Linked DNA regions of Homo sapiens: regions 1, 3, 4, 5, 6 and 7 are each linked to region 2. Evidence: promoter capture Hi-C in 16 types of primary human blood cells and fetal thymus (Javierre and others, 2016). All regions are on one chromosome and are shown on one strand. The core of a region is centred on a gene start or on the middle of the fragment in contact, and the rest is flanking DNA. Distances in the headings are between cores, read along the strand shown. Region 1 overlaps PSMC2 (proteasome 26S subunit, ATPase 2). Region 2 holds the start of ORC5 (origin recognition complex subunit 5). Region 3 overlaps PMPCB (peptidase, mitochondrial processing subunit beta). Region 4 has its middle 13 kb from the start of LINC01004. Region 5 overlaps LOC101927902 (a long non-coding RNA gene). Region 6 overlaps SLC26A5 (solute carrier family 26 member 5). Region 7 overlaps SLC26A5 (solute carrier family 26 member 5).

Region 1 (4,101 bases), core at 477-2,976, 850 kb before region 2:
CTCATGCCTGTAATCCCAGCACTTTGGGAGGCTGAGGCAGGTGGATCACTTGAGGTTGGGAGTTTGAGATCAGCCTGGCCAACATGGTGAAACCTGTCTCTACTAAAAATATAAAAATATTAGCTGGGCGTGGTGGCAGGCGCCTGTAATCCCAGACACTTAGGAGGCTGACGCAGGAGAATTGCTCGAACGTGGGAGGCGGAAGTTGCAGTGAGTCAAGATCGCGCCACTGCACTCCAGCCTGGGCAGCAGTGAGATTCCGTCTCAAAAAAAAAAAAAAAGTTTTGTTTAATAACACCAACATCTAGGCTTCTTAAGGGACAATTTCTATTGACTGATTTTTTTCCCCTTATGTATGAGCCATAATGTCATACATAAGGGAAAATGCATTTCATAATGTTTTGCATCTCATAACTTTTTGGTGATAACTAGACATTTAAAATAATGTAATGTGTCACCTCTGGAAATCAAATTCTTCCTTTCCCCAGGGTTTGGTATTATTGCTGTTTGTTGTTCTTGTTTTTCCTTTCAGGTTTTTTGGTCAGCCTCTTTTTTTTTGGTAGAGAATGGGTATAATTCTTCTTCCCTAGCAAACATGGTTGGTAACAGAAAACAGAGTCCTTCACACAATTATGCTATCAGGACAAAGCATTCTTTTTTAGCCTTGACCTCCTGGGCTCAAGTGATCCTCCAGCCTCAGCCTCCTCAGTAGCTGGGACTACAGGTGCATCCCACCACACCTGGCTAAGCCAAAGCATTCTGTACCTTACTTTTAGCTCTACCTATGTGCGCACTCCACAGGCTATTTTTGTATTTCTCTGTAATTCTTGCTGTGGCTTATGTAGCAGCTTTCTAATGTGAGTTCTGTTTTTTGTTTTTGTTTTTCTTTAGTAGATAGATACTATAGAAGGGGAAAGGCGGTTGACTATTTTATACTGTGATGTGCATGGCATTATAAATTCATTTTTACCAGGCCATATGGAAATGAATATAATTAAGTTAAAAATAGCTTCTACTGGCCGGGTGCAATGGCTCACGCCTGTAATCCCAGCACTTTGGGAGGCCGAAGCAGGTGGATCACTTGAGGTCGGGAGTTTGAAACCAGCCTGGCCAACATGGTGAAACCCCGTATATATTAAAAATACAAAACAATTAGCCGGGCGTGCTGGCGCATTCCTGTAATGCCAGCTACTTGGGAGGCTGAGGCAGGAGAACTGCTTGAACCCAGGAGGCGGAGATTGTAATGAGCCGAGATCGCACCACTGCACTCCAGTCTGGGCTCCAGAGCAAGACTCTGTCTCAAAAAAAAGAAAAAGAAAAAAAAACAAGCTTCTACTGCCTCAGTTAAAAAAAGAAAAAAGTAGCAAAAACAATAAAAATGGATTTAAAGTCCGGGTGTGGTGGCTCACGCCTGTAATCCCAGCACTTTGGGAAGCTGAGGCGGGCGGATCACCTGAGGTTGGGATTTCGAGACCAGCCTGACTAGCCTGAGGTTGGGAGTTCAAGAGAAACCCCCTCTCTACTAAAAAAAAAAAAAAAAATACAAAATTAGCTAGGCATGGTGGTGCATGCCTGTAATCCCAGCTACTCGGGAGGCTGAGGCAGGAGAATTGCATGAACCCAAGAGGTGGAGGTTGCAGTGAGCCAAGATCACACCATTGTGTTTCAGCCTGGGCAACAAGAGTGAAACTCCATCTCAAAAAAAAAAAAAAAAAAAAAAAGAAAAACGGATTTAAAGTATAAACTCAGGAAAAGAATGAAAACCCATTTATTACTGAATTTGGTGTAAGACAAGATGACCATCTTTTTGTAGGGAAAATAAAAACGAGAGCAACTTAAGATATACAGGAGCATCACTAATAATAAAGGAATACAAACTATGGAAATCAAGAAATCAGAGAACTTCTTAATGATGAGATATTTGGGTTTAATTTTCCAGGAGAATGTATTTGAAAATTTTATGACTTGGCTAAAGTCGAATGGACCTTTGGAGTTGGGTATAGAAAAGGATCTTTAACAGTGTCCCAGTTTCTGTAGTTCTAGTTTATACCTGTATATTGCACACTCAGGATATAATCTAGTTAGTTGAATTCATTATTAGTGGCTTAGGTTCCTTATTCTAATCAAGCTTTTTGCTGTGTTAGGTGTACAAAGATAATCAATGCTGATTCGGAGGACCCAAAATACATTATCAACGTAAAGCAGTTTGCCAAGTTTGTGGTGGACCTTAGTGATCAGGTGGCACCTACTGACATTGAAGAAGGGATGAGAGTGGGGTAAGATTTCTATTTACAATAAATACTTTTCTTTCACTAAGGATACTGTCTCACATTCATATCCTTGGCTTTGTAGTGAATAAATGGACTGAGTTCCTTGGAATACCAAAGGATGATCTAGTAATGTACTATAGTTGAAAATTCTGTCTTCTGCATCTGCTTCCTAACTTCCCATCGGCTTCGCTGACTCCCCTACTCCCACTGTTGTTTATTATGAATGGCTTCAAATTTCAGAGTTGAGGTTACCAGTCCATTTAAGGTAACATGGTATAGGTTGGGGGAGTACTTGCTTTAGGATAGTTGTGATGCTAAGTGTGTTAATGTCTATAGAATACATAACAACTCACTTAGTAAATTAAAAAAAAATCTCCCCTCCCTCCTCAAAGGTTTGATTGCTGTTGGATAGGTTGTTTGCGACATTAGACATGTAGTTTAGTATCCTCAGATTTCATGCTCTCTTTATTTCTCTTTATATAATTAGGGACTCTGTCTCTCTCTTGTTTTCTTAAAGTATGGTTTTGGGGATAAAGGACTAAACATAAAAGCACTTTGAAAGCTTAAAGAATGTATTAATGACTATCTTTTTTACTTCCTTAGCGTGGATAGAAATAAATATCAAATTCACATTCCATTGCCTCCTAAGATTGACCCAACAGTTACCATGATGCAGGTAAGAAACTATGGGAGGGAAAAGGAAGGCTATGTCTTTTTTTTTTTTTTTTTTTGAGGCGGAGTTTCACTCTTGTCCAGGCTGGAGTAGAATGGTGTGATCTTGGCTCACTGCAACCTCTGCCTCCCGGGTTCAAGCAATTCTCCTGCCTCAGCCTCCCGAGTAGCTGGGATTACAGGCACCCGCCACCACGCCCAGCTAATTTTTGTATTTTTAGTAGAGACGGTGTTTCACCATGTTGGCCAGACTGGTTTCGAACTCATGACCTCAAGTGTTTGGCCTGCCTCAGCCTCCCAAAGTGCTGGGATTCCAGGCGTGAGCCACTGAGCCCGGCAGTATTTTATATATATATTTTTTGAGACAGAGTCTCAGCCTGTCTTTATTTTACTAGTTTGTTTTTCATTCATTAGTGTCATAACAAGTTAATACAGCAAGTAGTTCCAGGGCACTGGGCAATGTATTCAATTTTTATTAAAATTCTCACTTGTGAGTTTTTCTTTTAAGGTATTAGGTCTATTCTATTGAATTTGGACAGTATCCAAAAAGCCTGTGACTGTATGTTGTACATTTCTGTCCCTCTCTTAGGTGGAAGAGAAACCTGATGTCACATACAGTGATGTTGGTGGCTGTAAGGAACAGATTGAGAAACTGCGAGAAGTAGTTGAAACCCCATTACTTCATGTAAGTAGCTGAGTGTTGTATTTAAATTTCTTTGTATAAAGATGTCTTTTGTGTATTGAGCACTAAAATTGCTTGTATATTAGATGGCTTTTAATATTTTCCCTAATGAGAGTTTTTTGAGAGGGTGGAGAGAGGAGGTGTGGAGAGTTGGTAAGTTCTAGGGGAGAGCAAGCAAAAAGGATTGAGTGGTCAGGTATATTTAAAAAAGAAAGATCTGCTGTTTACAGTGACAGAGGAGGCACAGTGTAACCTTTAGCAATATGTTAAATATGTTACAGGCTATTATAGAAGAAACTGGTTCTTCAAAAGACATCGAGAAGAAAGGGGCTTAAATTGAAGCAGGTTAAACTTGGGAGGATAATGGAAAACTAGGATACTGAATACCAGATAATTTTGTTCCTTAAACACCATAATTTTTTTTAAATTAGGAAAATATTTTAAGACTGGATAATGGAAGTGCTTTTTAAAAGCCAT
Region 2 (4,292 bases), core at 1,029-3,528:
AGCAGGATGCAGTGGCTCAAGCCTGTCATCCCAACACTTTGGGAGGCCAAGGCAGGCAGATCACTTGAGTTCAGGAGTTCGCCTGGGAAATACAGTGAAACCCCATCTCTACAAAAAACACAAAAATAGCCAGGCTTGGAGGCAAACACCTGTGGTCCCAGCTACTCGGAGGCTGAGGTGGGCGGACTGCTTGAGCCTGGGAGGCAGAGACTGCAGTGAGCCAAGATCATGCCACTGCACTCCAGCCTGGGAAAGAAAGCCAAACCCTGTCTCAAAAAACAAAAACAAAAAATTCTGTCTCAAGAATTAAATGCATGTTGCTGAGTATCTCTGCTATCCATTACATGTTGTTGCCTAATAATACCTTAAACATCTTTTCTATTGTGACCTAGAATTATATTGAACTGTTCCACTGTTATTTAACCTTTCACCTTCATAAATCTCGCTAACATAAACTGCAATAAGCTAGTACCTGACACAGAAAAGGTGCTCGGTAAATATTTATTTATTGAACAAATAAATGAGTATTCTTAGAAACATGAACCAATTTTTTATATTTCTTTGCTATAGTTGTTTGTATTTCCCACATGCACAGCACCTTGCAGAAAACTGATATTAAAATATTGTTAAACATAATTTTCATTAAAAGCAAAGGTCAAAAACTCTTCTGTGATCCACCACTAAGTTTACTCATCCCTATTTGCCAATTTGCTCTTTCAGCAGGAACATTTCTGGCTGGAGTGATCTGCGTTCCATAGATGAAATGCAGAGAACATAATCAAGAAAATGCTCCAGTAATAATATAACTATAATTGAAAGCAGTATAAATAGAAAATTAATTGAAGATGCAGTTGTTGACCTCTAACTTCCCTAAATAATGCACCCCTTTAGACAGAGGGTAGTACTTTTCCACTAATGCTTCACAGGCCACCTCAAATTGCCATGCAATATTTCTAGTTGGATGAAAGTACAGTCACGTGTACATTCAAAGATGGACCACATATACAACAGTGATCTCATAAGATTATAATACCCTATTTTCACTGTACCTTTTCTATGTTTAGACACTTTTAGATGCAGACTTATCACTGTGTTACAACTGCCTACAGTATTCAGTATAGTAGCACCGCTGTAGAGGTTTATAGCCTAGGAGGAACAGGCTACACCATACAGCCTAGGTGTATAGCAGGCTACACCATCTAGGTTTGTGTAAATACACTTTCTGATATTCACAGGGATTAAATTGCCTAACGATGCATTTCTCAGGACGTATCCCCCTCACTAAGTGGCAGCAACGCATGACTGTACTTAAAAAAGCAAACCAGAAGATGGGGGTATGAGTATGACCCTGAATTCTCATTCACTCTCTTCGCAGGTAAGATCCAAGTTTGATTAATTCCAATTCTGATTGAGTCTGAATCAAAAAGCACATCAAAGACCACCAGAAAATAGTCAAAAATAGGTTAAATTTTGAATTGGTGAACGCTACCCTCTGCCTATTGAAAGGACTCCCTACGTATCTATGTTCATCCAGACAAGACAAACTCCTCTCTAGGGCATCCTGTGAACTATCAGTTAAGGAGAAAAGTTTACCCTAGACCTCTTCTGGACTGTTACAATTCTGGAAAAGCCAGTAAATTTTTAAACCTGAAGCACTGCTTTGGCCCTTAGTGGCCTTGAAAGCAACCACCTCTCTACACTTGACTCACTCCAACTACCGCACAGAAACGTGTGAACTTACATTTGAATAAATAACACCCTGCAAACACATCTGTTACATAAATGTCATTGGGTTGGGGTAAGATAACAAGCAACTTCTAGGAGCTAATGTGGGCAAACTTCTGAAAAGTGTGGCGTGTTTCAAATACGTCTTAGGCAACGTCCTATAGTGCAGGCCGGTCGCTCTCAGACTGTCTCCTCTTCAATATTCGGAAGAGACTGTGGGTGAAGCTGCAGTACAGAACCACAACACCCCTATTTAACGTAAAAACGGCCTTTTGGCCCTCAATCCAAACACGAAAAAACAAATATTGGAACAGGTCGCAAGACTACCGAAACGTCTGCCTCCAGGATCTGGAAGACAGTTTAACTACAATACCTCTCCAAACAAGGACTGCAAGATGGACACTTGAGACTCGCGACAAAGCACCACGTTTTCCAAGTGGGGCATTCTGGCAGGCACCACCGCAGAGGCCAGTGCAGCCAGCCCACAGGACCCTTGCACAAGACGGAGCCTCTCCCGAGTCTGGCGGCCCACGCTCCCGCCGGAAACCGGACCCGCAGCGTCGTGGGAGGAGCCTGCGCTGCCGGGCTGCGGCGTGACGGCAGCGCGTACGCCGAGCGTCGCCGCCGCTCTAGTCTCAGGGCCGGAACCATCCTCTTCTCGCTGGTCCTGTGCGCGCCGAGGTTTTGCCCATTCTTGGGCTTGGTGGGGATTTCGGGCTGACGCTTTTTCCACTCAAAGGCTAAGGAGACGACATGGAGATGGGCGAATAGGGAAGGGGTGGAAGGGGTTAAGGGGGTCCCGTGGGCCTCCAATGACCCCTGAACCCCGTGCCTTTAGTTTTACCGGCTGGAAGCCCCAAGTTTAGAAACCTTGAGTGCCTAAGAAGACGGACCCGGAGCTGGGGCCCTTAGAGGGACGTGGAAGGCGGACTTAGAAGACTAATATTGTCAAAAGATGTTTTTGTTGTCGTTTTTTTCCCTGACGACGTTGTGGGAAATTAGTGGCATTGAGTACAAAACAGGGTGTAATGGGGTTTAATGCACAGCTTGGAATTACTATTTTTTGTGCAAGCTTTAAACCAGATGTGGAAAGCCTCTCAGTCCTAATGGGATGAAGTCGTAGTGTGTGTTGGTGAGGTTGATAGTAAAAATAATGCTACTTTTAGCATTAGGCTTTCACGTGTATTTATTTGTGAGGCACCTACTAGCGACTAAACACTAGAAGATTCTGGAAATAAGATACAGAAGTAGGCAAGTGCATGGTGGAAAGAGAGCTTGGCGTCCTGAAACCCCTGGGTTGGGACCACTGACTGACTCAACTGCTGAATAGGGGGACTTTGGAATAGTTGAGCCTCAACTTCCTTATCTATAAAATAGGGATAATACTGGCTAGGTTATTGCTAGGAGTAGAAGATCCTGTACATACTACCTGTTATACATAAATTTAAATTGTGGACTTCAATCTGCCCATAGATTGTAGATCAGTCTTAGATTTGTGATGGTCAAAAGGATCTTTTGAGAGTTGTGGTATATAACGTATTAGCTAGTCAAAATAGTATTTTCACAGCAACAATTCAAAAGCATTTGCCCAGGTACTTTTTAATAGAGAATTCTAAAGGTTATAATGGGACCACCCATTAAATTTCAATGTCTCCAAGGGAAGCTGGCCTCTGATACTCTCCTAAGATGGTTATACGTCCGTAACATACTGTGCATATAAGGTATACATATATTATAATCATAACACGACATCTTTATAGCATTCAATAAAACTGACTAAACTGTCTAAAATGTTAGTCTCCCTCTCTATATACTTTATGAGGACAGGAAACACTGTCTTCACAGTTCAATTTCCAGCATACACAGTTAACGCCTGGCAGTTACATAATAAAGATAATTGTTGATCTGAGAGAACATGCCTTACCATCTGGATGATTTAGGATGGTTTCTCAGAGGAGAGAACCTGGAAGCTGAGGCTGAAGAAAAGATTCACCTGTGAGACCAAGAAGGAAATTGTAAACAAAAGAATGTACAGACAAAAAGGGACAAATGGGCAATCCCATAACTGAAACTAGCAAATAGTTTTTACATATAAACCTGGAGAGTAGTAGGAGGTCAGGCTGGGGACCAATAAAGAATTGTAGGCAGAGAAGCAAATGTTGAGATTTGACTTAGAAATATTCCTTCTGGCTACAGTGTGGAAAGTGGAATCAATTTCATTTGTTGAAACGACTATTGCAGTCTCCCAAACAGTGAATAATAATGGCCTCGATAGGCAGCCAAGATGGCCGAATAGGAACAGCTCTGGTCTACAGTTCCCAGCATGAGTGATGCAGAAGACGGGTGATTTCTGCATTTCCATCTGCGGTACTGGGTTCATCTCACTACGGAGTGCCAGACAGTGGGCACAGGATAGTGGGTGCAGTGCACCGTGCACGAGCCAAAGCAGGGCGAGGCATTGCCTCACTCAGGAAATGCAAGGGATCAGGGAGTTCCCTTTCCTAGTCAAAGAAAGGGGTGACAGACAGCATCTGGAAAATCGGGTCACTCACACCCTAATACTGCGC
Region 3 (3,822 bases), core at 620-3,119, 900 kb before region 2:
GTGGATTTTGGTATCCACAGGGATCTGGGAACCAATTCTCCACAGATACTGAGGAACTATACCAAGGTGATGTAAGAACATTAATTTCCTTGTTTTTCACAAGTACATACTAAAGTATTTGGGGCAAGAAGCATCACATCTAAAACTCAGTTGAAAAAACTTGTATAAAGAGAATAAAGCAAACATGGTAAAATAACAGGGAATCTAGATAAATGAAATTCTCTGTACTGTTTTTGCAACTTTTTTGTAAGTTGGAATTATTTCAAAACACATTGTATAGATTTGTCTTTACTCATAGATTTCTCCAAAATACATTTCATCTAAATAATCTTAAGCTTCATATGCAATATAACTTTGAATCTTTAAGCGTATGTAGCCAAGAGTCCTAGAAATTGGGTTGATAATAGCCATCTAGTTTTAGAAGTAGGTATAGCTACTACATTAATTATAAGGACTCATTGCTTTTATAACATGAATTTCTCCAGGGGGTGCACTGGGTAAGTGAGATAATAAACACAATTCTTAGTCATACTGAATTTTAACTCTACTACTGAGATGTTGAATAAAACTAGGAAACAGCCTCTAAGGATATTCACTATTTTCCACACACTCCATTTTTCTTTCTGTATTTTGGACATGTATAATTAAAATTCTCTTGGAATTTTTTTTTCCTTGCAGAATTTATCTAGCAAGCTGGCCCAGCTCACTTGTCATGGCAATCTTTGCCATAGCTTTCAGTCTTTCAACACTTCCTACACAGATACAGGATTATGGGGACTGTATATGGTTTGTGAATCATCCACTGTTGCAGACATGCTACATGTTGTTCAAAAAGAATGGTGAGAAAAATAGCTTTAAGTAATTTAAATTTTGCCTTTAATTCGTTTTAAACTAGTTTTTTATTTATACTTTATGGTGATTTATGGTAATTTTACCTTTTAATTAAGAGACCTAGATAAACAGTAGTTGCCATGTTTTCAAAGGTTGCAGTTGGTTTTTCCTAAGTCTCAAGATGTGAAGCTGATTTATACTATAGAATTTTTTTTTTTTTTTTTTTTTGAGATGAGGTCTTGCTCTGTTGCCCAGGCTGGAGTGTAGTTGTGCCATCTCGGCTCACTGCAGCCTCCGCCTCCCAGGTTCAAGCCATTCTCCCACCTCAGCCTCCCGAATAGCTGGGATTACAGGCGCACCACCATGCCCACGATGCCTGGCTAATTTTTTGTATTTTTTAGTAGAGATGGGGTTTCACCATGTTGACCAGGCTAGTCCTGAACTCCTGACCTCAGGAGATCCACCCTTCTCAGCCTCCCAAAGTGCTGGGATTACAGGCGTGAGCCACCACACCTGGCTGAAAGTTTTAATCTTTCAGAAGCAGGTTAATTCAGAAAGATGATCCTAAAAGTTTAAAAGCCAACTAGAAGTTGTTTGGAAAATATCTCTGAAAGTAATCTGGTTGAAGGGAAAGTAAATCTGAAGTTGCCACTGCTAAAAGAAAACAAAGTATATTGAGTCGATAGATGGGCAGAAAGGCTCGCAGCTTCTTGGAAAACATTTAGCTCTGGTTCCTTTCCTCCACTATTCTTAATTGGTTTACATCTTTCTAAATCTAGTCAACTAGGATGTAATTATTGTTAAAAATTAGATTTAAGTTAGACTCTACTCATTGTTTTCAGAAACCAATGAATGACCCACTGACTTAACCCATAGCATATCAGACTCCAACAGATGAGGACTCATGAAGTCTCAAGATGCTTATAGCATTTCTGAAAATGTGATCAGCCCATTTGTATAAAGCCTTTGTCTGCTAATGTGTAATTAGGCATGTTTATGTATCATTTTTGAGAAATTAATACTGGGGAAAATAATCATTTTAGCTTTTGCTTAGCATTGGAATTAAATTGTAATCACCTGTATGTTTTGTGTAGAAGATGGCATCATCATTCTTAGGTCATTAACTCATGAAATACAACATTTTCCAACTACTACTGTTTTTCCACGTTTTTTAGGATGCGACTCTGTACAAGTGTCACAGAAAGTGAGGTTGCACGAGCCAGAAATCTTCTGAAAACAAACATGTTGTTGCAGCTTGATGGTAAAAATAAAGATATAGGTTCTGTTTTCATATGGTTGATCTGTATTCCAATAGTTAATTTTTCCTTCTCTTTAAACAGGTTCAACTCCAATTTGTGAAGATATTGGTAGGCAAATGTTATGCTATAATAGAAGGATTCCCATCCCTGAGCTTGAAGCAAGAATTGATGTAAGTAGTCCTGAGTTACTATTGGGTCATGTGTAAAAAGATCCTTGTTACAAAAGCTGAGAATATGTATCTTTCATCTTGCTTTAGTTTTAAAAAGTTCCAGGTATAGACTTTGTTTTTACTACAAACAGCTGAATGACAGTGTCTTCCATATTTCAGGCTGTGAATGCTGAGACAATTCGAGAAGTATGTACCAAATACATTTATAATAGGAGTCCAGCTATTGCTGCTGTTGGTAAGCCTGGCTTCTTTTCTTCTATGCAAAAAGTTGGCCAAGTACTTTTAATTAACTCTTCTTTTTAATCCTTAGGTCCCATTAAGCAACTACCAGATTTTAAACAGATACGCAGTAACATGTGTTGGCTTCGTGATTAAAATGCTCCTAATCAAGATTGTTTGAACACATGTATTTATAAAACAGAGCTAGAGAAAAATAAAAATGAACATGTATATACATTTGGAAATTTGAATTAAATACTGTATCATACTTTCAAAGGATAAAAAGACTACCCCTCTGAAGGTTGTTTTGTATTAATGGTCAGTCTTTGTTCTCTGAGAAATTATGTTGGAAGCAGCATACTTTCAAATTATTACCATGAGTATAATTTTAAGAATGAAAATGTTTACAGTATTTTCAGTTTTATTATAAAAATGCACACACAACAAAGATTGTCATTTCTTGGCTCTACTTGCATTCAGCACTTGTTCTTGAGCAGCTTTCTTTGCTTTTACCATCTCGACAAGTTCCTAGGAAGGGAGAAAGGTGTGATTTAAGAAGTTGCGATTTAAAAACAGACATTTTAATCTAGTGTTTGGTGTAAAGAATTCAAGCAACTAAGATAGATAGTACTAAATATACTGATTTCATTATCTGCCAGGGCCTAGAAAGTTTCTAAGGTTGCTCATTTCTTCCTCATAATATTGACCCCATAACTACTGGTTTTGAAATAAGCACTATATTATTAACCACTTAATAGACATAAAATATGAGCTATATCACCCAAGCTACAATTTAAAATACAACAATCTATAAACGCTTAAGTCTGCAACCTTGTATCGTTTCATGCAGTCCTTCTTTGTCCTGCCAGGCACCGCTTCTGCTATTTTTTCCCATCTTTCAGGTGTATTTACTGGGTATGTTTTCAAAGCTTGTTCCAAAAGCTTCTGTTCTTCTGTTGTCCAAGGGGTGAAGTCTGTATATGGACCTGATTAAGAAAAATTTTTATTTGAAAACTGTCTTTGAACATGTTCTCAGACAAGTCTTGTGGTCCACAAGTATTCGCTAAGTGCCCATTTCAATCTGGGATGTGTCATTTTGAAAATAAACTTGTAGAGATGAGAGATACATATAGCCCTCTGAGTGTTAATAAGAGAAAAAATTTCAGATAGCTCACATCCCAGAAAATAAAATCTCAAAGGCTTTTAAAACACAATAGTAAAGATCTACCTTGTACTGTTTATCTCTTAAAAATCAATGTAATACACTCACCAGACTGGTAAAAAGCCATATTTAAATTTATAGTACTGTTGGACTCTTGGACTCAAAAACACAACCACAATTC
Region 4 (4,012 bases), core at 738-3,237, 770 kb after region 2:
TTTTGTGTTTTTAGTAGAGACGGGTGTGGGCCACCGCACCTGGACAAGCCTCTAGTTTTCAACATGTTCTTTACATAGGGAATTAAATAGGCTTTTCGCCCAGCAGTTTGAATATTAATCAGGTATGTTTGGAGGGGTAAGCCACAGGAAGGGAATCCTGGCAGAAAGTGCTAGTTTATCTTCCAATCTGTACTTTTCTTCTTATATAATGGAATTTTTAGCTGAATACAGAGTCATCCAGTTTCCAAGCCTCCCTTGCAGCCAGATATGGTCATAGATGGGAGTAAAAGTGATGTATGCAACATCCAGATTCTTTTTTTTTTTTTTTTTTGAGACATGGTCTCACTTTGTCACCCAGGCTGGAGTGCGGTGACAAGAACATGGCTCACTGCAGCCTCAGTCTCCTAGGCTCAAGCAATTCTACTGCCTTAGCCCCCCATGTAGCTGGGACTACAGGCGCACACCACCACACCTGGGTTATTTTTGTAGAGACAGGGTTTCACCCTGTTGCCCAGGCTGGTCTCAAACTCCTGAACTCAAGCGATCTGCCCACCTCAGCCTCCCAAAGTGCTGGGATTATAGGCATGAACCACCGTGCCTGGCCCAGATTGTTATCCTTAAAAGTGAGGACAGTGTCTTCATTTTCTCCCTTTCTGCTGGAACACAGATGTGAGGGTGGGAGCTGGAGCAGCTATCTTAAACAGTGAAATAGAAGCCATGTATTGAGGGTGGCAGCACCAAGAGAAGGAAAGCAGGCCCCTGACATTACTGAACTGCTACTCAATTTTGGCATCTGTTTGTTACAGTTGTCCAACCCCTATCCTAAGTAATACCAGATCTAAACATTTAGCACAACAGTGCTCTGACTTCCTCATCTGAAAACAAATGTGTTCTTTGGAAAGAATGTACAATTGCATTAGCCAAGCTTTCTTTTGTTTATGGGCACAAGGACCCAATTCTACCTCAGTGATGAAGAATGAGTCCTTAATCCAGGGCATGTTATATAATATGGATGGTAAGGAAACTGCAGAAATTCACTTGGTATTTTCAGCAGATCATGAATGCTTGGGCACTTGGTTTCTGGCTCTTTCTGCCCGATTCTAACCACCCCCTCCTCCTACAGACACAATTCAGAATTTGTGCATGTGGTGCAGAGTTTTGTGTAGGAGGGCTGCCTAAATGAGCCTTCTTGCCATCTGGCTTCTTGGGCAGTGTGGAGAACTCAAGGCCACATCTGCCACTTAGTGCAAATTCAAATGTATTGAGAGTTATAATGGCTCACGTATTAACACACAGAATAAGTTGACTGAAGATAAACCGTAGAGCAGAAACTTCTTTTTTTAAAAGCAGCTTTAAACAACATTTATTATCTCACAATTTCTTTGGGTCAGGAATCTCGGGTACAGCTTAGCTAGGTGCCTTTAATTTAGGTTCTCTCACAAGGCTGTAATCAAGGTGTTGGGCTTCCACCTTTTCATCTGAAGGCTCTCCTGGAGGCAAATTTACTTCCATACCCATTCATGTGGCTATGGGAAGGTCTCAGGTCTTCTAGCAAGCAGTAACTTTTTTTTTCTTTCTTTTTTTAAAGGCAGGGTCTTGCTCTGGGCCTGGAGTGCAGTGGCACAATCTTGGTTCACTGCAACCTCTGCCTCCTGGGATCAAGCAGTCCTCCTGCCTCAGCCTCCCCAGTAGCTGGGACTATAGGTGCCTGTCACTATGCCTGGCTTCTTTGTATTTTTTGTAGAGATGGGATTATAGGTGTTAGCCCCTGTGCCTGGCCAGCAGCAACTTCTTAATAGAAATTTTGAACTTTCTGGATTCTTAGGAACACAAAATATACTTACCTTTTGAGTTGAGGTTGGTCACTGCCAGAGGTTTCAGCCAGTGATTCTGGTCTGTGACCTTCTTGGGTTATGCTGAGCGTCCTTTATACTATATAGACAGAATGTCACAATTTATACCGGAGTTGGTCTCAAGCCCTCTTAACCCAAGTACTTAGCAGCTCTCCTCTATTCATGAAAGTTTGCAACCCATCAAGACTACTTAAAGATTAAAATAATACCTGATTGAATCCTGGATTATATTTCAAAGTTTTGTCTGAGAATTCCCTCACAACTTCTGAGGTCATTCTCTGATACCATGGTCAAGGTACGTGATATTACTTCTTTTTCCCATTTTTCAAATGAAGAATCTGAAAAATTACACAGCAGCATCAGGATTTTTTTTTTTTTCCTAAACTACTTGATAATGTGAGTCTAAGGATTTAAACGTTCCTGTCTGAAGCCAAAGCCTATTTTGTTTCCAGGCCTCAGTAAACAGAGTTGGTCCAGAGGCTGGAAAAGTCATTTGACAGCATTCCAGCCCTGTCAGCATCTTCACTGAGTAGCTTTGTTATTTGCTATAAACAGTTGTAAATTTCCAGAACTGCAGGCACACCCATATTAAAGTGTTCATTACTAAAATGCCTCATAATGCCAAATGCAAATCAACAAGTGAATTAAAGTCCCAGTGGAATTCTGTCCCTGGATCCCCTCCACTAGCACAGATAATTGAGAACTGACAAAATTTAACTTTTCTTAAATAATATTTAGTCAGATATCTCAAATCTGACCCCTTCTATCATTTAATGGAACTTCTCAATTGTGGAGGAAGAATGGTTGATGCTATGCTTTAAGCTGCTTTTAAAATGTGAAACCTATTTTGTTAACGGAGAAACGACACTTTTTTAAAAATAACAGGACTTCTCTAGGCCCCCAAGTTTTGCTGAAACTCAGGGAACACATATGGACAACTCTCTAGTTGTTGTTCTTCCTATAAATCCCAGAAACCATAGCTTCTGATTTAATGCCCCACCGGAACTGCAGACCTTAAAAAACAAAAATCCCACTGGGATGAAAGAGGCTCATTTGTTTTGAAGTTGTGGCCCTTCCACCCCCTGGGTGGCTCCTCCCCCATGTCTGTGTCTGTGGCTTTGATTTATAATCTTCCACCCCCACAAGCCTTGGCATTTACTGGGATCCTACAAAGAGGTTAAGGTGTAAAGCAGGAAGAAGCTTTTAAGGACAAGAGGGAGTTGGGGGTAGGGGCTGGGGTATGAAAAGAGAGTTAAGGAGAGGAAAAGCAATTATAAGAGACCACATGCGTAGCATAAATGAATGAGCACACGGGCAGGGAAGGCCCTGGCTGATTGAAGAACTGCTGAATGTGGTTTTGCCCGCCAAGGCAGTGCCTGTGGTTCTGTGATACAGCTTCCAGTGGGAGAGCTCCTTGCCCAATGCACTGTAATGAGGATAGCCAGTATGTGAACCCCCCTCCTGCTTTGTCAAGGTTTTTTATATGCTTGCACAGCTAGCTCTGTGTTCCCAGCTGTAAGGCCTGGGATTTGCAGTTTATCCCCTGGGGGGTAAATAATAGGAGCTGCAATCTTCTGCCAGAAAAGAACTTGCTTCACCAGCTTGGACACTCAGTTGATGATGAACGCAAAAGATTTTCTGGAAAATAAAATGAGATACCCCATGGGCCAACCTTTGAAAACTGTGAGGTGCCAAGTAAATGTGAGTCATCGCAGTTCTAATAATTATCAGGGCTAGGTAGGTGGGTTTTCTTGAAAAGGATGAAGCCTCAGAACTTATGGCTTAGTGCCTAAAGGGAGCTTCATGATTTTCCTTGCAGGAATTTCTGGAGACAGACAACTCAAAATTTTCCCTTTGGAGTTTCTGATGCAGTGTTGAATCCACAGATTCTAGAGGCAGACTTGGGTTGGAAGTCTGGCTCTGCCATTTATCTGTGTGAACTAGGGCAATTCTCCCCTCTGGAAAATGGGAATACTCTATTACTGGATGTGGTTGTGAAAGAAGTAGTGGATGTAAAATGCTTAGCATAATGTATAAGCATTAATAGAGGCACAATGCATGGTTACCTGTATCATGTACCTTTCATGAGAAAATTGGTCTGGTTTAGCACTGAGGCAATGGAAGGGAAGGAGAGACAACACTGTGACATGTCTAATATA
Region 5 (4,057 bases), core at 309-2,808, 750 kb after region 2:
GTAGGGGGCAGGGGGAGGGATAGCATTAGGAGAAATACCTAATGCATGCGGGGCTTAAAACCTAGATGACGGGTTGATGGGTGCAGCAAACCACCATGGCACATGTATACCTATGTAACAAACCTGCACGTTCTGCACATGTATCCCAGAACTTAAAGTATAATAATAATAATAATAATAATCCAGAGCAATTCCCTCCTGCCCTGTCTGAGATTTGATGTAAAAAATGCGTCTTCCAGGCTGGGCACGGTGGCTCACGCCTGTAATTCCAGCACTTTGGGAGGCCGAGGCAGGCGGATCATGAGGTCAGGAGATTGAGACCATCCTGGCTAAGATGGTGAAACCCCGTCTCTACTAAAAATACAAAAAAATTAGCTGAGTGTGGTGGCAGGTGCCGGTAGTCCCAGCTACTCGGGAGGCCGAGGCAGGAGAATGGCGTGAACCCGGGAGGCAGAGCTTGCAGTGAGCCAAGATGGTGCCACTGTACTCCAGCCTGGGCGACAGAGCGAGACTCCATCTCAAAAAAACCAAAAATAAATAAATAAAATAATGAAAATTTAAAAATGCTTCTTCCGGCCAGGCGCGGTGGCTCACGCCTGTAATCCCAACACTTTCGGAGGCCGAGGCAGGCGGATCACCTGAGGTCAGGAGTTCAAGACCAACCTGGCCAACATGCCAAAACCCCATCTCTACTAAAAATACAAAAATTAGCAGGGCATGGTGGCGGGCGCCGGCAGTCCCAGCTACTTGGGAGGCTGAGGCAGGAGAATGGTGTGAACCTGGGAAGCAGAGCTTGCAGTGAGCCTAGATCATGCCACTGCACTCCAGCCTGGGTGACAGAACAAGACTCTGTCTCAAAAAAAAAGAAAGCTTCTTCTAGGGAGGTTTAGTCTCAGGCTGGCTCTCCAGGCCCAGAAGGGGTCATCTCAAATTTCTGCTCTTTGTGGACAGAGCTAATCAAATACTTTTTGGGTAGGGACAGCAGACATTGCCATATTCAGCTTCTTGAAGCTCCTTCAGACAGTGGAAGCTGGACCTTGAAGCTCCCCTAACAAATAATGTAGCAATTGTTGAGAGTCCTCATGGTCATGGGATAATGCTTGGCAGTCAACAGGGGCTCACATTCTGAAATAAGTAACGCCAACATGGTCATGCTTACTGAAAACTGTAAACTACTTTGAAGCATACAGAAATGTGTATTCTGAAATAAGAGACAGGCTGATAAAAGAGGAAAAGAAAAAGGGGTTTGCTTGGTTCTTAAGAGACAGGGATGGGAGTTCCCTGTAAGCAGAGTTGCACAAGAGATGGTATGGAGGCAGAAAAGAGGAAGCAGGGAGCAAGGCAAGGCCAAAGTCAACTGAAACAGGAAAACTAGCCAGAAAGCACATTGCTTGCTCTTTGAAGACATTTCCTTCAAGTTCTGCCTTGCCCCAAAACCTAACCCAGGCCAGGGTGGTGAGCGCTCTCACCTCTGAGCCTCTGACACATGGACTGCATGTACTGCTATTGCTCCTTGGCATATGGCCCAATTTTCTGAAATCATAAGCATTTCTGTGCAACCATCCTGTCACTCCAGTTAAATTTCAAGACAGATTTTTTTTTTGAATAGTATATCCTTAGTGGAAGAAATAGGAACCATTTTATTTTATTCATTTATTTTTTTTGAGACGGAGTCTTGCTCTGTCACCCAGGCTGTAGTGGAATGGCGCGATCTTGGCTCACTGTAACTTCTGCCTCCTGGGTTCAAGCCATTCTTCTGCCTCAGCCTCCTGAGTAGCTGGGATTACAGGCGCCCGCTACCACACCCAGCTAATTTTTTTTTGTATATTTAGTAGAGACGGGGTTTTGCCATATTGGCCAGTCTAGTCTCGAACTCCTAACTTCAGGTGATCCACCCACCTCAGCCTACCAAATTGCAGGGATTACAGGCGTCAGCCACCGCGCCCGGCTCCAGACTGGGTTTTTTAGCAAAGAAGGAATTAATACAGGGAAGTTGGTGCTCATGAAATAGTTGAAAGTACTGAAGGAATAAGCATGTAGGCTGGGGCCTTCTGGAATGTCTACCTGAATGCCACAGAACTGACCCTCATTTCCCTCCCTCCAGAAGCTACAACCTCAGCCCAGATTAGCAGGCTGAGGGGTCAGGAGGCTGTCACTGGAGCTGTTGAGCTCATGAACACGCCGAAGTTGCTGCGCTCCAGAAATGTGGAAGTTGGAATGAAGAGCCACCACTGCTGCCACCAACATGAAGCTTGACCAAGCAAGCCAAGAAAAGATGGCCAAGAGCCTCTGCCTTCCTTCTGCCTTCTGCAACGCAATGGTGAGCTGCACATCCACAACTTGAAGGGAGTCTGGGAAATGCAGAGTTAAACTTTCTAGCCTCTCTAAGCTTTCAACTGTTACAGAAAGGCAACCCAGGAGGAGACTGGAATAAATGCTGAGTGCCAATTTCCAACACAAGTAGTCATTATAATTGGGGTGAGTGTTATCTTGCCCTGGCTCAGGGGTAATCTTGTGTTGGTTCTGTTCATCCCCACCAAAATCAAGTGCAGGGCTTATTCTCCCTTCCCTAACCATCAGGTCACTAGGGGTCCAGGGCCTCACCTTCCTTCTCAAGAGTTAATGAGCATTCCAGGATGTTGTAAGGAAGGACTGTCCATATGGAATAGGGAGGACACAAACCCAACATTTTGCTCTGACTGTTAGCCAATAAACAATGTCCTGGTTGTTGCTTGCTGTCAGGCATAAGTCCTCACTAGACACCTACCAGAAGGCAACTAACCCAATGGTCTGGCATAGGCAAAGGGGCTTACTAAAATGTAGGCTGGCACTCACTTCTAGCCCTCTCCTCCTGTCCCCACCACCTCTCTGTCTTATCACTTCCCTTCTATCTCCCCTCCTCCCTCAGCCTAGAGAATATTTTTCTAACTTAGGTAAGGAGCTTTGCTGTTATTCCTGATGTTTTCTCCTAAATCTTTTACCAGTTTGTTCTCTCCAGTTCACTAAGGATCTAGACCAGTGGTTTTCAATCTGCAGCCTACATCTGAGTCACCTGGAGGGCCTGTTAAAACACAGAACGTGGAGCCCAACCCCCAGAGGTGCTGATTCAGTAGGTCTGGGGTAGGGCCCAAGAATTTCCCTTTCTAACGAGTATCCAGGTGATGCTGATGTGGTCTGGAGACCATACTTTGAGAACCACCGGCCCAGGCTTTTGAAACTGAAAAACTTTGCTTTCTGCTTGTAAGACCCATCTCTTAGATAGGAGCAAAGAATGGTTTGTCTGTTCAAATGGGGAGATGGAATAGAAGAAAAAAAATCTAGAAGAAAAAAATCAAAATCAATGTTTTAAAAATAGTATTCTAGCATTCAGTAGTAATAATATAACCCCTTTGCTATGCCTTTAATATCTGGAAGAGAGAAGCTTGAGTACTTGCAAAATCTTGCCCCTGGATGGTGCAAAATAATGTCTCATTTTCCTCTTGAGTCTTTTGTCTTTGCCAAATCTATCTTAGAGGACAAAAAGGAGCAAGTCCTTCCTCCCTGCTTTCCTCTGTCTCCTCTTCTCTTTCCTCATGATGCTTCGGTCTCTTCTGTTATCCCTTGGCTCACCCCTCAGTCTTGATTTTTCTCACTCTGTGTTCCTAGCTGTCAGTCACGTGGACCTAATCCAGTGTTCTCCCAAGTAGAGGGGCTTAAGCTACTACTTTCAGGCTGTGCTGAGTGATATACATACAATGCCTCATTGACAATCCTGAAGGATGGTATTTTGCTTCTCATTTCACAGATGAGGAAACAGATGCTCAGAGAGATCACACTGCTAGGAATTGGTGAATCCAGAATTTGAGTCCAGTTTGTTTAGCTCCCAGTCCCAGGTCCTTCCCACATGTTCATGATCTTGTGTCCTTTTGCATCCCCAGCCCACAGGACAAAAACCTTGTCATGCTTGGGGTCAGGTTCTGGCCCCAGCTGAGGGCTGAGGGGAGTGGGTGGACACAGGGCAGGGAGCTGGAAGAACACCTGAGAGACAGCATGTAAGTGAGACATGGCTTTATTCAGC
Region 6 (4,272 bases), core at 357-2,856, 830 kb before region 2:
TATGTGGACAGTGATAATTAGGGGTAGCAAAAATACTGTTAAATCTTACTTAAGTACAATAAAACTATTATATTAACTTAAAGGATATTATAATTTCAAAATAAAAAACGATTTTTTTTAGAGACAGCATCTCACTAGTTTACTCATGCTGGTCTTGAACTCCTGAGCTCAGCAATCCTCCTGCTTCAGCCTCCTGAGTAGCCTAGCATATTACAGTAATGTTTTCTAAAACGAATCTTCTTGTAGCAATACACATTAAAATATTTACAGATGATGTTATGACTGGGATGTGTTTCAAAATAAAACAAGAGAAAGTGAATGTCAGCTATAAAGGAAACCAGATTGACCATAAATTGATCATTGTTGAAGCTGAGTGATAGTTCACGGGGGTTCAATATACTAAAATCTTTACTTCTATATATTTTTGAAATTTTCCATAATCAAAAGGGGATAAATCTTTTGTTGAAAAGAGAGCCTAGCCCACCTCCCTGATTATGCTGATAGTACGACACCAGGCATAGAGGTATTAAATGACTCGTTCAAGAGGATGCTTACCCCTGCCAGAGTTTTCACTCCAACAGAATCAATAAAATTGACTTGAGTGAAATCCAAAATGACAGTGTGGACGTTATCCCCTGGGGGCATAAATCTTTGCATTTCCTCAGGAAATGTGCTTTTGATCACTATTGGGGGATATTTTACTTCACCATCCTCTTCTTCAGGCTTGGTAGCATCCTCTCCATCTACTTCTGCATCCTGTGTCAAAAATTAAACCAAACCAGAATTTTATGAACAACTCACATTTCTGGTTGTGAGAAAGATTTATAATGGAAAATCTGCTCTTGTGTTCTTAAGCTACTGACTCTACCAGACCCCTTGTAAAATATTTGTCATATTCTAGCCTTGTAACTGAACAAAAAAAGGATGTATGTATAACATTCCATTTTAAGTCAACTTCTCTCTTTTTCCTTCTCCTCCTTTTTTTTCTTGTCCAACAAAATCCACTCTCCTCAGTTATCCTATCCATTTTCTGCTAAAGTCTAAAATAGTTCCATTAACTTTAGTATGATGGGTCACACATTAGCATGCCTGAACAGCAAAAGCCACCTTTGAGCTTTTTAAACTATCAGCTGAATAAATCTATGACAAAGTGCTAATGGTAAAATCTGTTAAGGTATTGTGTAATTTTTATTTTTTAAAATGATGTTTTCCTTACTTTTTTCAGAAACAGCCTCATAACTGACCTTATCAGGTGCTTGTAAAATATAGAGGATACTAAGGTGGTTTCTAAACTTTCCTCTTTTAGTAACTTCGTGCTGTGTTTAAACTTCAGTCATGAGTAAAGATGGAGGGCATTGCAGAACAAGACAGAACGGATTATTTCAATGAAAAGACCACTCACTGCTTTGACAACAGTTGCGTTGGCCATATTTGCATTTCCGACTTCCTTAGCGTACTTCCGCATGGCCTTTCTCCTTGCTCCCATGATGACTGCTGGGTTCACTCCAGTCTTTACAGAAGAGCACCATATGCAAAATCACTTCATGGCTCTCAGGGACCCACCCCAATGCCACTCCCCTTCAAATCTCCCCATTTAACTGCTTTCTGGGTCAGATTATCACCCCAACCCTTGCACTGCCTTTCCCTCAGAGGCCCTGAACTGGTTACTCCCTTACATTAGTAGCCTTTCTTATTCTCAGTCTTTATTCAAGACAACCAGAAGCTAAAATATTAAAGACAATTTTTAGAGCAGTCTTTTTCAAGTTCAGATCTGTCAGGTTGTTATATTTAAGAGACTCTGTGGGTTGACAGGGAGCTTTTCCTATATACAGCGTGGTGTAGGGTTGAGTTCTAAACATGACCAAAGGAATCTACATGATCCCAAGAATAAGAAACCTAAAATTATTTTCTCATGTTTTCTTAAAATTTTGTTTGAAAAGTAATATTATATATACGATAAGAGAGAATGAACAATGGTGATGGCTGCACAATGTTTATGTACTTAATGCGACCCACTGGACTGTATACTTTGAAAATGCTTAAAATAGTATATTTTATGTTATGTATATTTTACTACAATAAAAGAGAGAGAAACAAAGCGAGAATGAAATAGTATATACAAAGGTATACTAGTGATCCTCATATCCCTGTCAACCCACAAATCCCATCCTCAGAAATAATCAATTTCTCATGACTCACCTTTCGTTTTAATGCATTGCTATACAAGTCGCTATTTGCATAGTAAATTGGTGCATTTATTTGAAATATTTTTATTCCAGGAATTTCTTTCACCTGAAGAGTAAAATATTGCTGAATTTAACACATGGAAATATTTCAGAATCAAAACTGCATAGCTTCCCCACCCCAAATAGAAAATGAATGCAGAAGTTGCTAAGGTCCCCTTTTCAGGGCTTAGCTAAAATGATGTCACACACAGACCAAAAAAAAAAAAAAAGATAAGAAAAGAAAAAAAAAGTCACTCTTATCTACTCATGCTCTGAATGGAAGAGAACTGACAGAGACCTTTTTAACATGCACATCTTTCCATTTGTTTTAAAAGTCAGTCTTCGTTTTATTTTTACCATTAAACACAAAGAAGAAACTGAAAAATACTCAAAAACAGAAAAGAAAATGGACAGGAGATGGAAGGCTGCTGCCCAGACTGTGAGAGGCAGGCAAATAAAGTGAACAGAAGTTTACACTGGTTTGATTCACAGAAGCAGGAAGGAGCTTAAATGGACACAAGTGAAACTGAGTGAATATTTTATCAAGAACCCTTGTGGAACTCTAGGAGGCAGGCTGGAAACAAGCAATGTTGCATATACTTCTTTGGATCGAGGAAAAATATAGCAATTCTAACACCTTTACCTTAGAGTGAATTTTGTTTCCTCATATCCTAATACCTTAAAGTGAGTCTGAGAATTTCTTCCCAAGCATAAGACAAGACCGACAGACAAAACTAGTTTTAAAAGATTTTGTAAAAATCTTCGATATTCCACAGAAGAAAAGAACACTCAAAATCAAGGAAATCTGAAGCTGTAATTTTAACCATTCAAATGAAGTGGGAGAATTCCACAGCCCCACCATCTACATTTTACATGGTTAAAATTATTTTACCATTATACATTCATCAGAAAAAAACCATGCACACACAAACCATCCTTTCAGTTTCAATACTGTATAAATGTATACTTTAATTTCAACAATATATATTTATCCCCATTAAAAATGAGGAAAAATAAATATTGGAAATTGAGTAGTTAATGCATAGTATAAATTATAAAATTGAATCCATATAGTAGATCAAAGCTCAGACTTTTCACTTTGACCACTATACCTCCCATCTTACCCCTACTTTTTATCCTGGGTAAAAACAGTACTTAGCCAAGCACATCACATGCTTACAACCTTTTTAAGTGATAGAAAAAGGTCCTACCTCCTCATATGCGTCTATATCAATATACACATCAGTTTCAGGAAGCTTTCCAAGGACTTTGTAGCTTGGACTGAAGATAAAGAGTGTTAAATACCATTGTGTTGAGGCACAGCGTGTGATTTCAACAGGAGGTTGTGTATGTTTATGTCAGGTTGGGGTTTGCTGGTGCATTTGGGAATGCTTGATCCTTACATGGTGCCTTTGCAGAAGGGCTCCACACATATCACGTTCCCAGTGCCATTCCAAGCCTAATACACCCCACACACCTCATGCCACATACACATCACATGCCACACACACACATACATACCACACATGATACGCACACACCATGTACACCTCATACTACACATACACATCCCAATACCTACCTCACACACCACACACATACACAATATACATACCTACACACAATGCATACACACCACACATACAGAATACACACACATTATACGATATACCACACATATACATACACACATGCATACATACCACATGTATAATGCACAATACATACCCCCACACACATGCATACACACACAATGCACACACACCATACATACATACCTCATATCACACACAATATACACACACTACACTACATACCACACATATACACATCATACACACTGCATATATACTATGCAATGCACACCCCTCACATGCATACACACCATGCACATACATACCACACATATGCAATACACACATACCATATACACCTCATACCACACATATACACACTCCCACACACATACGCAATACACACACATACAATGTATACACACCCACATACCACACACACATACACAATACACACATCTACACATAATGCA
Region 7 (3,897 bases), core at 1,350-3,849, 790 kb before region 2:
CTGCCTCAGCCTCCTGAGTAGCTGGGACTAAAGGTGTGTGCCACCATGTCCGGCTAATTTTTGTATTTTTAGTAGACACGGGGTTTCACTATGTTGCCCAGGGTGGTCTCGAACTCCTGACCTTGTGATTCGCCTGCCTCAGCCTCCCAAAGTGCTGGGATTAAAGGTGTGAGCCACCGCGCCCAGCCTCTGGACCATTTTCTAACACTGCAAACTTGTACCTCAAGTGGGTAAGTAGCTAGAAAATCAACCACTGGTTATACAGAAAACAATGGAAGGTCTGGAGTGGCTTGGTGCCCCACAGTGCGCTGACCACACTAATGCCTTCCCTGTCTCTCATTGAGCTGGGGGCATGCTTCATCATGTAGACTAAAGTGCATGATCATGATCACTGGCTGTTTCTTCCAAGCAGAGAGGAATGTCCTCTCCCAGCACTAACCAATCCTGCCGTGTCAAACTTGTCTTGCTTTTGGGATCTTTAAAACACCCACCTGAAGCTTGCTTGCTCGTCACTCATAGTTGTGAATATGGCATGCAGTTGGTCTGCAGTTACTCCCAGAGCTCTGGGGTTTTTCTGGCTGACCCCATCCACCGTGTAGTAAGACCAGCCAAGAGCACTCAGTAGATACTTGTTAGGTTAACAAACGAGACAGTCCATTTCCCCATCTTTGAGCCTTACCTGAATGATTCCTGAAAGTAAGGTCACAGACATGGCGACTTTCACTCTCAAGGCATCTCTGGCCTCTGTGCCATTGGTTGCATTTACTCCTCCTGGAATGACTATATCATCTGGTACTAATCGAACAGCTACACCACCAATCATCAGGCTAATAACAGCAAAAGGACCTGAAATAATGAAGCATGAAGATCCCTGTTCAGGGTTCAGAGTATCTGATATGGTTTTTGCCAGTACACCAAGAGACAAAGGTGAGGTCAAGAAATCATGCTTGAAGGAAGGCTACGCTCCCTTCTTTAGTGTCCTGCCCCTGGTGTATGAGCAACCGTGTGTGTGCGTGTGTGCGCATGCAGACTGTATTTTCCAAAAATAGACATAGCAATATCTTCCATCCACAGAGTCTTCTTGACATTTCCCCATCAAGAGGTGGAGTCTAATTTCTCTCTCCTTGAATCTGGCTTGGCTTTGACTTGTTAGTAATCAAAAGAATGCAGCAGAAGTGACGTTGTGTGACTTCTCAGGCTAGGTAATAAAAGGGCTGCAGTTTCCACCTTCTGCTGAAGCCCTAAGTCACCATGTGTAAGAAAGCTCCAACTAGGCCAAGTGGAGAATTCCTGGGACTGCATGGAGAAAGGAAGGCAGGGAAGAGGGAAGGGAGGGAGGAAAAAGGGAGAGAGGAAGAATTACCCAGACCAGCCCTTCCCAAGTCCTGAACTGCAGGCACTATGGAAGATACAAACATGATTGTTGTTGTAAAGCTGCTACATTTTGGGGGTATTTGTTACCAAACAGTAGATATCTGGAAAGTATGTGTGTGTTAGGTAGTAGCCTTATGCAGCACCAGAACTATTATGAAATCCATATGCCCCTGATAAACTGAAAATATGTACAATTCAGAGCCCAAAATATGACAAAAATGAAATACATGCATAGCGATTAGGAACTTGAAGTACTACCATTAGTATAAAAATAAAAACCAGAAGCTGGCAAATTACATTATGAAATCAAGCATTTATCTCATTTCACAGATTTCAACAATTGCCCTTTTACACAAGAAAATTGTCTTTTTTATTATCCCAAGATTATAAGAAAATTGTAAGTTCTAGAAATCTTGGGAGGAGTGTAGTTTTTTTTTTGTTTTTTTTTTTTTTGAGACAGAGTCTCGTTCTGTTGCCCAGGTTGGAGTGCAGTGGTGTGATCTCAGCTCACTGCAATCTCTGCCTCCCAGGTTGAAGCGATTCTCCTGCCTCAGCCTCCTGAGTAGCTGGGATTACAGTCACCCCTCACCAAGCCTGGCAAATTTTTGTATTTTTACAAAGAGATGGGGTTTCACTATGTTGGTCTGGCTGGTCTCGAACTACTGACCTCAGACGATCTGCCCGCCTCGGCCTCCCAGAGTGCTGGGATTACAGGGATGAGCCACCGCACCTGGCCGAGTGTAGGTTTTTAAAGCACCTATTGTGTATGCAGTAACAAAAGTTGTTATTAAGACAATTTTTAATAATGACCATGCTATTTCTTTGGCACATTGCAAGGTTGGAAATACACAAGGAAAGGTAATAGAATATCAAATGTAAGCTTTTACCTATGGATATGTGTCTGGAGGTTCCAAGAAAACAATACATGATAACAGGGTAAAATGAAGAGTACAGGCCAAATATTGGAGGCACAGCTGCCAGCATTGCAAAGGCTAAGCCTGTGGGATTAAAAACCAAACAGAAATGGGGGATCATTAGAAGACAGAGGTGTTACATGTGTTTTTCTCTTGGTTCTTTATTTCTGATGAACGAGTGAAGCCCATCTTAATTTAAGCTGCAACCTGCCCTACCCCAGTCCTGCACATCATCTTACCTTGGTGCTGATAGAGTCCAAGCTGAGAAACTTTGCATTGTCATCTCCTTTTTGCCAGTGGGTGATTTTTTTTTCTGCTTTATTCTTTCACAAATTAGATAAAAGCAGAAAAAAGTCTTATCTTAGTGGTTGTCATTGTAATTTGGTGTTGACTCACAAATGCGAGCTCGTTCTCCAATGGGGTGTTTTTGTGGGTTCTCTGGAGACCCCTTTGCAATAAGGGACTCTCAGTTACTATGCCCTAACCTATGTAATGCTCCCTCCTCCTGACTCTTAGATATCCCTCCTCCGACTCTTATCAGAAGGTACAGCCTTCCACGTTCTTTTGGCTGGTGTATGCTCATCCTGTAGGCAGTCTTCTTAGGCAGGTACCTATCAAATGGGCCAAGTCTCATTACCTTCCAGTTACTCAATGGGAAAGCTTGACATTTTACTCCCAAGAAACTTTGGAAGTGCAGGTCACACCCTCTAGGGGACTCTTTCCCTCACTCTGCGGTCCTAGGCAGTTCACATCATCCTTTAGACATTTTTTTTTAAATAGAATTTTTAGAGCAGTTTAGGTTCACAGCAAATTGAGCAAAAGATACAGAGGTTTTCCATACATTCCCTGCCCTTATGTATGCACAGCCTCCCCCACTATCAACATCCCCCACTATCAACATCCCCCACCAGAGTGGCACATCTGTTACAAGTGATGAACCTACATTGACCTATCACTATCACCCAAAGTCCATAGTTTACATGAGGTTTACTCTTGGTGTGGTACAGTCTATGCAAATGTACAATGACAGGTAGCCATCATGATAGTGTGATATAAAGTAGTTTCACTGCTCAGAAATTCTCTGTGCTCTATTCATACTTCCCTCCCCCCATCCCCTGGACACTAATGATATTTTTACTGTCTTTGAAGTTTTGCCCCCCCCTTTTTTTTTTTTTAAGACAGGGTCTTGCTCTGTCACCCAGGCTGGAGTACAGGGGCATGTTCATGGCTCAATGCAGCCACAACCTCCCGGGCTCAAGCAATCCTCCCACCTCAGCCTCCCTAGTAGTTGGGACTACAGGTGTGTACCATCACACCTGGCTAATTTTTGTAGAGACAGAGTTTCCCCATGTTTCCCAGGCTGGTCTTGAACTCCTAGGCTCAGGCGATCTGCCCACCTCAGCCTCCCAAAGTGCTGGGATTACAGGCATAAGTCACTGTGCCTGGCCAGTTTGGCCTTTTTTAGAATGTCATTCAGTTGGGATCATACAGTATTAAGCTACACCAGGCTGACTTCTTTCACTAAGTAATAAGCATTTAAGGTTCCTTCATGTCTTTTCATGGCTTGATAGCTCATTCCTTTTTAATATTGAATATTTCATTGTTTGGA

What was found. The method cuts DNA at HindIII sites, captures the fragments that hold promoters and counts their contacts. A CHiCAGO score of 5 or more calls a contact.
Region 1: a fragment that was not itself captured here is called in contact with the fragment with the promoter of ORC5 in region 2 in 1 of 17 cell types (naive CD4 T cells); the score reaches 5.1 in naive CD4 T cells.
Region 3: a contact is called between a fragment that was not itself captured here and the fragment with the promoter of ORC5 in region 2, in 2 of 17 cell types (non-activated CD4 T cells and M2 macrophages). The highest score is 5.8, in non-activated CD4 T cells.
Region 4: a contact is called between a fragment that was not itself captured here and the fragment with the promoter of ORC5 in region 2, in 2 of 17 cell types (M0 macrophages and M2 macrophages). The highest score is 8.3, in M0 macrophages.
Region 5: a contact is called between a fragment that was not itself captured here and the fragment with the promoter of ORC5 in region 2, in 1 of 17 cell types (naive CD8 T cells). The highest score is 5.1, in naive CD8 T cells.
Region 6: a fragment that was not itself captured here is called in contact with the fragment with the promoter of ORC5 in region 2 in 1 of 17 cell types (M2 macrophages); the score reaches 5.5 in M2 macrophages.
Region 7: a contact is called between a fragment that was not itself captured here and the fragment with the promoter of ORC5 in region 2, in 1 of 17 cell types (megakaryocytes). The highest score is 5.2, in megakaryocytes.

Annotation. Positions count from the first base shown.
Region 1 is chr7:103,359,813-103,363,913 of GRCh38, forward strand. PSMC2 (proteasome 26S subunit, ATPase 2) reads left to right here. Exons shown (of 12, transcript NM_002803.4): 5 at 2,145-2,276; 6 at 2,874-2,946; 7 at 3,532-3,627. It also overlaps a transcript of SLC26A5 not described here. Among named protein-coding and RNA genes, the nearest start is that of PSMC2, 14 kb to the left of the region's middle. The HindIII fragment of the contact is 799 bases long and covers 1,328-2,126 here.
Region 2 is chr7:104,205,735-104,210,026 of GRCh38, forward strand. It overlaps ORC5 (origin recognition complex subunit 5), which reads right to left and starts at 2,279. Exons shown (of 14, transcript NM_002553.4): 1 at 2,099-2,279. The coding sequence starts at 2,170. RefSeq lists enhancers at 1,938-2,127, 2,168-2,247, 2,298-2,457. The HindIII fragment of the contact is 7,936 bases long and covers 1-2,795 here.
Region 3 is chr7:103,309,637-103,313,458 of GRCh38, forward strand. It overlaps PMPCB (peptidase, mitochondrial processing subunit beta), which reads left to right. Exons shown (of 13, transcript NM_004279.3): 9 at 679-839; 10 at 2,007-2,092; 11 at 2,172-2,260; 12 at 2,420-2,495; 13 at 2,571-3,822. The coding sequence ends at 2,635. It overlaps DNAJC2 (DnaJ heat shock protein family (Hsp40) member C2), which reads right to left. Exons shown (of 17, transcript NM_014377.3): 16 at 3,311-3,465; 17 at 2,653-3,007. The coding sequence ends at 2,933. Among named protein-coding and RNA genes, the nearest start is that of PMPCB, 14 kb to the left of the region's middle. The HindIII fragment of the contact is 3,073 bases long and covers 334-3,406 here.
Region 4 is chr7:104,976,299-104,980,310 of GRCh38, forward strand. No RefSeq gene overlaps it. Among named protein-coding and RNA genes, the nearest start is that of LINC01004, 13 kb to the right of the region's middle. The HindIII fragment of the contact is 2,128 bases long and covers 924-3,051 here.
Region 5 is chr7:104,959,880-104,963,936 of GRCh38, forward strand. LOC101927902 (a long non-coding RNA gene) reads left to right here. Exons shown (of 2, transcript NR_187679.1): 2 at 2,105-2,455. Among named protein-coding and RNA genes, the nearest start is that of LINC01004, 29 kb to the right of the region's middle. RefSeq lists an enhancer at 1,475-1,544. The HindIII fragment of the contact is 1,381 bases long and covers 869-2,249 here.
Region 6 is chr7:103,377,044-103,381,315 of GRCh38, forward strand. SLC26A5 (solute carrier family 26 member 5) reads right to left here. Exons shown (of 20, transcript NM_198999.3): 15 at 3,437-3,506; 16 at 2,200-2,292; 17 at 1,403-1,510; 18 at 556-756. Among named protein-coding and RNA genes, the nearest start is that of PSMC2, 32 kb to the left of the region's middle. RefSeq lists a silencer at 3,557-3,844. The HindIII fragment of the contact is 3,745 bases long and covers 1-3,479 here.
Region 7 is chr7:103,410,741-103,414,637 of GRCh38, forward strand. SLC26A5 (solute carrier family 26 member 5) reads right to left here. Exons shown (of 20, transcript NM_198999.3): 5 at 2,262-2,372; 6 at 680-846. Among named protein-coding and RNA genes, the nearest start is that of SLC26A5-AS1, 33 kb to the right of the region's middle. The HindIII fragment of the contact is 694 bases long and covers 2,253-2,946 here.